2 separate regions of the Homo sapiens genome follow, and region 2 is linked to region 1. Evidence: promoter capture Hi-C in 16 types of primary human blood cells and fetal thymus (Javierre and others, 2016). All regions are on one chromosome and are shown on one strand. The core of a region is centred on a gene start or on the middle of the fragment in contact, and the rest is flanking DNA. Distances in the headings are between cores, read along the strand shown.

Region 1 (5,258 bases), core at 989-3,488:
GAGTCGCACCATGGCTGGGTGGATCACAGAGGATGGGATGCTGATGGGATGGCGGTGTCACATACTTTGAAAGGGAGCTTGAGCATCTACTGCCCACCTGCCCCTGATGAAAAGGAACTCCCTTCACTAGCAGATTTCCCCACTCCTCTACAGTTCTGCCTTGGGTTCATACTTTTTCCTACAGAGTCCATCTCAGATTACTAGAAACTTTCAATACTGACTTACTAAAACTCCTCAGACTCAAAAGTTATGACAATTTCATAGGATCCTACCTCATAAACTGGGTCAGAGAGTTTTGTCTGCTGTACTGGGGTAGGTGAGAGAAGAGACTGACTTTGGATCCATAATCCTTTCGTGTAGGAACCTTGACAAAACAAGGGAACAGGACCAATGGCCCAGAGTTTAAAAAGGATGGGATAAAGCTGGAAAGGAAGTGAACAGTAAGACTACTCTGACCCAAGCACCTATCCTTCTCACTTTGCACCCAGCACCTTTCCTCCCTCCAGTCCATTTCCCTAGGCTCTTTCTAGCCAGGCACCAAACCCACTTCCTACCTGTTGACGCTCTGGTTTTTTAACAAGCCTTCTCAGAAGTAGGTCATCAACCTGAGGGTACTCAGGGAGACGCTTCACTCCTGAAAGATAATCATCATGTTTTCAGGACACTGTAGGTCTTGAAATGTGTAATTTGCTCTTAGGGTATAAGGGGCATCAAGAAAAACAGGATGAGGTGGAGAAAACGGGAGAATAGGGTAGAAAAGGAAATAGGGATAGGATAATGGGGTTGCAGGAACAATTCAGAACTCTGGGTCCCAAGAATGAGAGGGGAGAGCTGTTTTACTATTGGGCAGCCTGAGCTGGCGTTATAATTAGGAGTAAGGGAGGTCTTAAAATGAAGGGAAGATACCTGAGGGGGTTTCTCCAGCTGTGCTGGGGCTGGCCTTAGGAGGTGGTCCTCCTTGTTCCCCTTTTCTTGCCTGTTTCAGGGCCCGCTCGGCCTCCTGCTTGGCTCGACGCTCAGCCCGAAGTTCGGCCTTACTCCGACCAGCTGGAACTTTCTCCCGAGGAGTGCCCAACTGAATGCCCGATTCTGGCAGTTCTCTGGTTGGGCCTACTAAAAGCATTAAAAAAAAAAATGCCCAAGCTGCAGGCAGGTGATATCCGTGCCCCAGCTAAAACTAGCTTCTCTCCTTGTAAACCTCTTTGCTTTACACACTTGCTCAAATCAACTTTGTCCTGTCTCTCCCTTATCTCTCCCACCACATCCCTCTACCAGCTCCACACCCCAGCCCTTTAAAAGAGACCCCTCACTCACCTTGACATTGGGCTGCAGATACAGCAGAGCCAGTCTCTGGTTCTGCCCCCTTTTCTTCCTTCCGTTTCTTCTTCTGCTGTTTCTTTTCCTTCCGAAGCTGCAGCTTTTCTTCTTTGGTCATTTCCCTCCCCACTGCCTGAGACACAGACATAGGATACTGCTCTTCCCCAACAATTCCAAAGGGGAACAAATACTATTGGATGCTTACAAGATTTCCACATGGTTAAATCCCTAGTTCTTCCTAACTTCCACAAGCTACCTGTTGCAAGCTTACATCCACAGAGGCTGACGTTTCTCCTCCAGGGACAGAATCATATATCCCTAGGGTTGCAAGACCTCTGTAAAATCTCCTGGCTTTACTGAGAAATAAACCGACACGGGATGGGAGCTGGGGCGGAATAAAGCTGGCACAGCCTCCTGCGTAGCGCTTGGCAGGCGGCTTGGGAGGGAAGCCTCACTTACCCCAGGCCCAGGGGGAAGCTCCGCCTTCATCCCGGATCCCGAGTCTGCATCAGAAAACAGGGCACAAAGTGAGCCAGAGAGACTCCGGGAGGGTTTGGGGGCACGAGTACTCGGCGCAGCCGGCTGCTGGGTTGGCATGACCACGGATCCGCCGGCAGGCGCGAGGCGAGCCAGGGATCCGCGTGGGGACGCACTGCGCGGCGGATCAAAGGAATGGAGGGGTCACCGACCCTCCTCACAGCAACCAGCCGGTGCGCGGCGCGGGACTGCGCTCGAGACTGTGTAGACCGGAGCCCAGCGTGGCGCTGGAACGGAGCGGCGGGGCCCAAAGGCGCTCAAGGCCCGGCACTAGCTGTCCGGAGCTCGTCGGCTCCGCGTACCAGTAGGCAGGCCCGGCTCTTCACTCACCCTCGCGAACAGCCACGGCCACAGCAGCCATCGCCCTCAGTCCTAGGCTCCGCCCGCCGTGGTCACGGAGCCGCCCCGCTGCCTCGCTCCGCGGCTGCAGGGTCCACAGCGCCACCTGGGCTGGAGGCTGAGCCGCAGAAGCGAAGCGCGCAGCCCCAATCGGACTACAATTTCCGACGGGCCCCGAGGCCCCGCCCCGCACTACGGGTTGCAATGAGGGCCAACTCCACTTTGGGCTCCCTATCCGGACAGGTGGCTCTTGCCCTTTAGACTACAGTTCCCAGCATGCCCAGGCGATTGCGTCCCAGAACCGACGTCCCACCGCCTTCCCACATCGGATCGCAGGGCTCCCAAAATGGCGAGTGAGGCTGCGGGGACTCGCTGAGCAGCGGAGGGGGAGCGTGCAGAGCCGCTGCGGCCCTCACAGTCCGGAGCCCGGCCGTGCCGTGCCGTAGGGAACATGCACTTTTCCATTCCCGAAACCGAGTCCCGCAGCGGGGACAGCGGCGGCTCCGCCTACGTGGTGAGGAGCGGCCGGAGCCGAGCCGGGCCGGGCAGGGGCGGGGATAACGGGCCCGAGCCATCTCGGAGCGGCCTCTGAGGCCTGACCGCCACCCTTCGGGCCTGGTCCTGGGCCGCCGACTCCCGACGGCCTCTCTGGGAGCTTATCTCATGTGTGTGATTCGTGCAGTGGTCGCCCGAGCTCCTGTAGGCCCTTAGGCCGGGTCGCTTCCCCGAGCTAGGCCGCAGCTGCCCTGGTGGGCGTCACTGGCCTCTTGGGCAGTGAGACTGCAACACAAGCGTCCGAATTTCCCCCGGACTGGCTCTTCAGCTTTGGGACTTGGCCCTGGCGAAAACAAGCGAACTATCCCTCGGGAGATTAGCGCGTTACTCCGGCGAGTTGCCAGGCAACTTCCGGCCAGGGTTCTCAGGGGGGTTGCGCAGACCGCAACCCTAAAATGCTTGACTACTTTTGTGTCCTCAGGCCTATAACATTCACGTGAATGGAGTCCTGCACTGTCGGGTGCGCTACAGCCAGCTCCTGGGGCTGCACGAGCAGGTGGGACTAGCACCCCTGCCTTGAGACAGCTTCAAGCCCTTCCCTACACGTGGACATCAGTGTCTCCCTTTACCCGCTCTTCTTGTTCCCGTAGGCTGTAGTTCCCCTTTAATCACTGCCACAGGGTAGGGCCCTGGTTTATCTTGTCTGACATTTCCGGGAACTCCCTAAGAAGCTTAATGTCCGCGCAACAACTGCTCCTTCCTGTTCTTATATTCTGGTTTTCTGTCCAGTCTTACTGCTCTAGTAGCCTTTACCCCTGCATGGACAAACCAACCCCTCCCCCCACTACCTCCACCCAGGCTGTCAAAGCACATTCCTTCTGTCATCTGAGCGGCAACTTGAAATTCTTTTCCCTGCTTATACAAACGATTCACCGATTTCCTTTTGTGTTCTTCGGCTCATTTCAGTGTGTTTAGCTGTGCCAATTATCGTTATGTATCTGTGATGCAATGTTTCTCCTCCTTCCTTACCAGATCTTAAACTCTATTTAACTCAGTAGAGCTCCACTGATAATTAGTTGTGCAACCCTGAACAAGTTACCTGATATCTTTTTTTGGGACGGAGTTTCTCTCTTGTTGCCCAGGCTGGAGTGCAGTGGCACGATCTCGGCTCACTGCAACCTCTGCCTCCTGGGTTCAAGCGATTCTCCTTCCTCAGCCTCCTGAGTAGCTGGGATTACAGGCGGCTGCCTCCACACCCAGCTAATTTTTGTATTTTTAGTAGAGAGGGGTTTCACTATGTTGGCCAGGCTGGTCTCAAACTCCTGACCTCAGGTGATCCACCCACCTTGCCTCCCAAAATGCTGAGATTACAGGCATGAGGCCTGTAGAAACTGATTTCTTTGGGCCTCAGTTTCTACAACTGAAAGATGGATTCTTTGATCTGCAAAGTCCCTTTAAGTCCTAAGATATTTTGTGAACAGACTTAGCTATTAACTGTGCACTTTATAAAGCCCTTTCCTTCCTTTAAGGGTTCAGTGAACAGTCTTGCTAGGTGGTCAAGGGGCTCCCTATAGGTCCTGGCCCAGTACAAATCCTCCCCGTACTGTGGAGGGGCTGACTTGTACACAGTAAAATAGAGCACAACTTATATCTAGGACAGCTCCCTTGAGGTGCTACCGCTGTCAAAGGAATTGTTTCTCAGATGACCAGGGTAGACAGGGGAACAGGGACTGAGGGAAGGGAGGGGCACCCAAGAGAACATTATGAGCATATGTAGATTGCCTCATCTCATTTTCTGTGTTTATGTGAAGGGTTGTATCTCTTTCTCTAAATAGCTTCGGAAGGAGTATGGGGCCAATGTGCTTCCTGCATTCCCCCCAAAGAAGCTTTTCTCTCTGACTCCTGCTGAGGTAGAACAGAGGAGAGAGCAGTTAGAGAAGTACATGCAAGCTGGTGAGTGGTTGCAGGAAACTAGGTTGACTATATTGAGGACTATGGGGAGAGACTTAAAAACAGCTGGTTCTGTGGAAGGGCCTGATTTAATTTCTAGATCTAGGAAGGCTCTTGTTTGATCTGTTATGCAGTTAGCAAAGTAAATAGTGTACGAGGATGTGTAACTCTGTGTACTAGCAAAACAATTTGGGCACTAACATCTATGAGAAATACTAGTATAACACTAGTCTTAATATCAGTGGAGAGAACTTAATTTGTATCTGATGTGCTTTAGATTAACATCATTGTTATTTCCCTAGTTCTATAGACTGGACTCACCTAGATGGCAGCCAAGGGTGGGGCAGGTGAAGAATTTATGCAAACAGTGAGTGAGGTGAGGCCAGCTGGGGGATGTGGCAGGCCACCATCAGCCCAGGAAATGGGGTCGGGGGAACCTACTGAGAGGAGGACTGGGGAGCCAAGAGTGAGTGCTAAGTTCCTGTAATAATGTTCTCTTGTCCTCGTAGTTCGGCAAGACCCATTGCTTGGGAGCAGCGAGACTTTCAACAGTTTCCTGCGTCGGGCACAACAGGTAGGGCTTTGGGTGGGACCAAGATTTAAGGAAAGGACCTTGCTGG
Region 2 (5,258 bases), core at 1,669-4,168, 250 kb after region 1:
TACAGTTTTTTTGTGTACAAGAGTATAGATTTCAGAATTATATAACCTAAAGAGTTGGGTGTGAAACTTTTGGGATATTTTGGTTGGGAGTTGTATTTATCTAATGTTTCTGGTTGTCTTGTCTTGTAGTTAAAATATACTCGTCCAGGGCTCCCTACCTTCAGCCAGGAAGTACTACATAAATGGAAGACAGATATCAAGAAATATCATCGTATTCAGTGTCCTAACCAGGTGGTTCTTTCTCATTCATTTATTCAGTAAATGTTTATCAAGCATCTGCTCTTGCTTCTGTTATTTATTCCTTCATGACAAAGTACCTGAACCTCAGTGGCTTAAAACAATTATTTTATTTGTTCACAATTCCATAGAGCAATAATTCTGTAAAGGCTCAGCAGGGCAGTTCTCCTGCGATATGTAGCATCAGCTGGAATCGCTCATAAAAGTGCGTTCAACTGGAAACTCAGACTGGAATGTTCAAGATGGTTTCTGTGCAGCTGCATTTATCTGGGAGCTTGGCTGTCCATATGGCCTCTCTCTCTAGCAGAGTAGCTGGGCTACCAGCAGGGTACACAGTGACTGACTTCTCAGGGAATATTTTGAGATCATGAAAGCAGGGTTGCAGATCTCTTAAAATCTAGCTTCAGAATTTGCACAGCATCACTTCCATGGTGTTTTATTGATCAAAGGAATCATGGGACTAACCCAGATTCACAGGAAGGGTAAATAGACTCCACTTCTTGATGGCAAGAGTGGAAGAGAATTTGCAGCCATCTTTATTTTTACGATTCTAAAAATATTTTTATTTTCTAGAGTCAAGATGAGGGAGAGAGCCATCTTTAAACTATCACAGCTATAGTAGATTCAGTACTTTGCAGAGGAGTAAATATAAAAGAAGTGGGAACACATTTGCACTAAATAAAGCAGATTTTAAAAAAAACTATATAATTTTCTGTGTTTCTCTTAAGTGTCAGAGAAAGTACTGAGGGAAGGAAATGGCTTAATCTTTCCTAAACAACTTGTTCACCTTCTGTTTCTTTTCTTTTTACCTTTCCTTGGCTTTCCTTCTTTTGCGGCTTGCATGTATATTCTTTTTTCGTTTGTTTTGTGGCACAAATTATTGGTTTTCTTCCTTCAAATGTGGAGTTGGTCAGTGTAAATGGCCAGATTGTTCAGAGAAGGGAGCTATTTGGCATAGTCTTCATACTATTTCTTCTCTTTTGCAGGGCTGTGAGGCTGTCTACAGCAGTGTATCTGGCCTTAAAGCTCACCTGGGCTCTTGTACATTGGTTTGTAACTTTTTAAACTTACTATCTTAACATGTCCTCTAAAATAGTCTGACATGGAAGAGAATTCAGTTTAGGTGAACAGCTAGTTGTCCTGTTTACCATTATCTTCAGAGGCTGCTTTAGATTTTTATGTCTCTAAGATTCTTGGTCTGGTATTGGGTGGGATGCCAGGGCATGTCCAAGACTTAGAAAAGATCACCATAGTCACAAGTCATTATCAATTTAAAGGAATTGGAAGAAACATATATTTGTTCTGAGTTCCTATCCCTGAATTCTAAGAGATTCAGCTCCTTGCATTTGAGCATCTCCTACACTGGGCCTGCCCTGTTTAGGTGGGCCTAAAACTTTGTAGAATCACCTTACATGTGCTTACCTGGATTGGTAAAGATCCTCTATACCCATCTGAACCATACTGGCCTCTCGGGATGGGAGGTGGGATAGGGTGTCAGGCTAACAGCCATTCACCTCACTGAATCTTTTCCATGTTGACCCAGGTGTCCTACAACCTACCAGCCATGGGAATTGCTGCCATTTTCCAATCTCCTCACACAAAATGAGCACCATGGAAACCTGAAGCTTCAGGAGGGGAGAGAAGTCTCAGTTCAAGGCAACAAGGGAGTTGTAGGCATCTAAACCAGATCTGTCTAGGAATGCTTAGGAGTTTGTCATCTTGATCCTAGTTTCTGAGTCCTTAAACTAGGTATTACGGATGGTACTCTTCTAATTCTGGATTTTGAAGGCACTTTTTGCGACAGTAGATCATAGTGGGAAGAATTGTACATTGGTGCCTCTGGTGAATTTTGGGCATTTGATCATTTTGGGGGAGGAACCAAGACAACCTGGAAGTGAAGTGAAAGGAACATAGGAAGGTAGAAAGATGTGGCATATTACCTGAGAAAAAGTAGGAGACTTTCAGGTTGTGTTGAAGTAGGGTGGGTGATTGGAACAGAATTGCACTAGGATGGATTTATGTTGATAATCATCCATCCAAGCTGGTTTTCCTAAATCTATTACTATATTGGATCTTTTTCCTTCTTATCTTTGCTGAAGTAGAATTCCCTCTTTTCATCTCTAACAATCCCTACACATAGCCCAGTTATGTTGCTGAATTTACCAGTAATTCTTTTTTGTTTCTCTCTTGGAAATAGGGAAACTTTGTGGCTGGAAAATACAAATGTCTTCTATGTCAGAAAGAATTTGTGTCAGAGAGTGGTGTCAAGTATCACATCAACTCCGTCCATGCTGAGGTGAGGTTTTTGTAATCCTGTGGGCCTGATATGTAAGCCACAAGAGAGGTAGACTTTGTCCCTATTGTTATGGACTAAGGCTGTCAAGGAAAGTATCTCTAAAGTGGTTACCAGAGCCATTAGAGTTAAAATATTCTCTAAACTTAGATATATAATTGTATTTTTCTGTGAAAGTATTTGAAGTCACTGTGAGGGGTGGGCGGGGTGGCTTATGCCTCTAATCCCAGCACTTTGGGAGGCCAAGGCAGGAGGATCACTTGAACCCAGGAGTTTGAGGCTGCAGTGAGCTGGTTGCGCTACTGCACTCCAGCCTAGGCAACAGAGATCCTGACTCAAAAAAAAAAAAAAAATCACTGTGACTGTAAGCATCCTTGAACTCTTTTTTTTTTTTTTTTTAGACGGAGTCTCGCTCTGTTGCCCAATCTGGAGGGCTCACTGCAACCTCCACCTCTCGGGTTCAAGCAATACTCCCTGAGTAGCTGAGATTACAGGCACCTGCCACCATGCCTGGCTAATTTTTGTATTTTCAGTAGAGATGGGGTTTTGCCACGTTGGCCAGGCTGGTCTTGAACTCCTGACTTCAGGTGATTCACTCGCCTTGGCCTCCCAAAGTGCTAGGATTACAGGTGTGAGCCACCATGCCCGGCCTGAACTCTTCTAATTCCTTTAAATCCAATTAAGTCAAATGTTTGGGAACCAGATTGAGTTTACATGTTTGAAATTCTTATTTCACAGTGATCTCTATACATTCATGCCTTCTAGCATTCTAATGTCTTCCAGCAACCCATTTTTAACGCTGTTTAAAATACTGGATAAAACAACTAAAGGACATTATTGAGACAGTTGGGGAAATTTGAATGCTGACTGTATTAAATAATAGTATTGTGTCAGTGTTAACATTCCCAAAGGTGATAGTTGTAGTCATGCAGGAGAATGCCCTTGTTCTTAGGCAGATATATGCCAAAGTGTTTAGGGATGAAGTATTATGATGTCTGCAACTAATTTGCACATAGTTCAGCAAAAGAAAGAAGGAGGGAAGAAGGAAGAGAGGAAGGAAAGAAATTAACAGTGGTAAATTTGATTGTTCATTGAACTGTTGCAACTTTTCTGAAGGTTTGTAATTTTTCAAAATAAAATTTTAAAATTGTGTATAAAAATGCTTTAAAGTTCAGAAGGTCAAGGGTTTTCTCTTGGGGAAGGTTTTTTAGTAATACAGGTGAACAGAGAAATCGTTTATGATATAATTAAATAGTCCTACTACAACAGCTTAGGAATACAATTTGCATTCTCTTGGAATATCTCACTGCAGAAACTATTGCTGCCTGATGTGGAAAAATAAAGGGAACACCTTTATTTATTTTCTGCCCTCAAATTTGATAGTACTTAACAATGTGAGCTTTAATTACTTCCATAAAATTTGGTTTCTGTTGCTTTACTGGCATAAGCTTTCAGAATCCCTAACCAAAGCCTGAGATGTCTTCTGAAGGCAGTCATATCTTTTTAGTAATAATAGCATATCTTTTTTTGCTTTAGGAAGTATTTAAAAGGTAATTATCGGCTGGGCACGGTGGCTCACGCCTGTAATCCCAGCACTTTGGGAGGCCGAGGCGGGCAGATCACCTGAGGTCAGGAGTTCAAGACCAGCCTGGCCATCATGGTGAAACCCCATCTCTACTAAAAAGTTAGCTGGGTGTGGTGGCGGGCACCTGTAATCCCAGCTACTTGGGAGGCTGAGGCAGGAGATTTGCTTGAACCCAGGAGACGGAGGTTGCAGTGAGCCGAGATTGCGCCACTGCACTCCAGCCTGGGCAACAGAGCAAGACTCTGTTAAAAAAAAAAGGTAATTATCTCCTGACAAAATCTGGCCTTTATATAGTTAAATGGTTTGTCTATTTTCTTCCTAAAAAGTTAAAATCAAAAGAATTGGAACCAACAAATTTCACTTGGTTTGGGGCATGCTCCCAGGCATTTGTTTATTGATTTATGCCTCTATGAATTTTGTGGGTGGTAAAACATCTTTACCCTGTTTCTTCCTCCCTCCATCACATTTTCTTACACTACTTTTTTTTTTTTAACAGAAAATTTCAAACACATGAAAGTAGAGAAAATAGCATAATGAACCCAGTATGCTGTCAGCCATCCTCAGCAATCATCAGTGTATGGCCAATCTTGTGTCATTTATAACCTCACTTTTCTCCTCCCTTAAAGGCTTACTTTAAAGCAAATTCCACATAAAATTTCAGCTGTAAGTGCTTCTTTCAATATATATCTGTAAGAGATAAGGACTTTTGAAAACATATGACCACAAACATCATTATACCTAAAAAAGTTAAGAATTTTAATATTATCATATGTCTAGTTATTATTTAAATTTCCCTGATTATCTTATAATGTTTTTTCAGAGTTGATTTTTCAAATTAGGATCTAAAACAAGGTCTAAATATTGCATTTGTTTGTTTTAATCTAGAGCAGCACTATCCAAAAAAAGTACTGTGAGCCATGTATATAATTTAAAATTTTCTAGTAGCCACATTAAAAAAGTATTTTAAAAGATGAAATTAATGTTAATAATTATTAAGCCCAATATATCTAAAATTATTTTTAACATTAAATCAATAAATTATTGAGATATTTTACATTTTTTTCATAACAAGTCTTTGAGATTTGTTGTATATTTTACATGAAAGCATATCTTAATTTGTTCTACTCACATTTAAACACATCA

What was found. Contacts are between HindIII fragments. The CHiCAGO score rates a contact against its expected background, and 5 or more counts as called.
Region 2: a fragment that was not itself captured here is called in contact with the fragment with the promoter of EIF2B4 in region 1 in 1 of 17 cell types (megakaryocytes); the score reaches 5.5 in megakaryocytes.

What each region holds. Positions count from the first base shown.
Region 1 is chr2:27,368,100-27,373,357 of GRCh38, forward strand. EIF2B4 (eukaryotic translation initiation factor 2B subunit delta) reads right to left here and starts at 2,239. Exons shown (of 13, transcript NM_001034116.2): 1 at 2,185-2,239; 2 at 1,777-1,820; 3 at 1,315-1,450; 4 at 907-1,113; 5 at 555-634; 6 at 273-364; 7 at 1-40. The coding sequence starts at 2,215. SNX17 (sorting nexin 17) reads left to right here and starts at 2,517. Exons shown (of 15, transcript NM_014748.4): 1 at 2,517-2,707; 2 at 3,170-3,244; 3 at 4,524-4,641; 4 at 5,148-5,212. The coding sequence starts at 2,645. RefSeq lists enhancers at 1,485-2,446, 1,920-2,199, 2,420-2,509, 2,447-3,408, 2,530-2,589 and 1 more. The HindIII fragment of the contact is 1,836 bases long and covers 1,582-3,417 here.
Region 2 is chr2:27,615,039-27,620,296 of GRCh38, forward strand. It overlaps ZNF512 (zinc finger protein 512), which reads left to right. Exons shown (of 14, transcript NM_032434.4): 11 at 130-231; 12 at 1,224-1,286; 13 at 2,435-2,533. Among named protein-coding and RNA genes, the nearest start is that of CCDC121, 11 kb to the right of the region's middle. The HindIII fragment of the contact is 2,116 bases long and covers 1,861-3,976 here.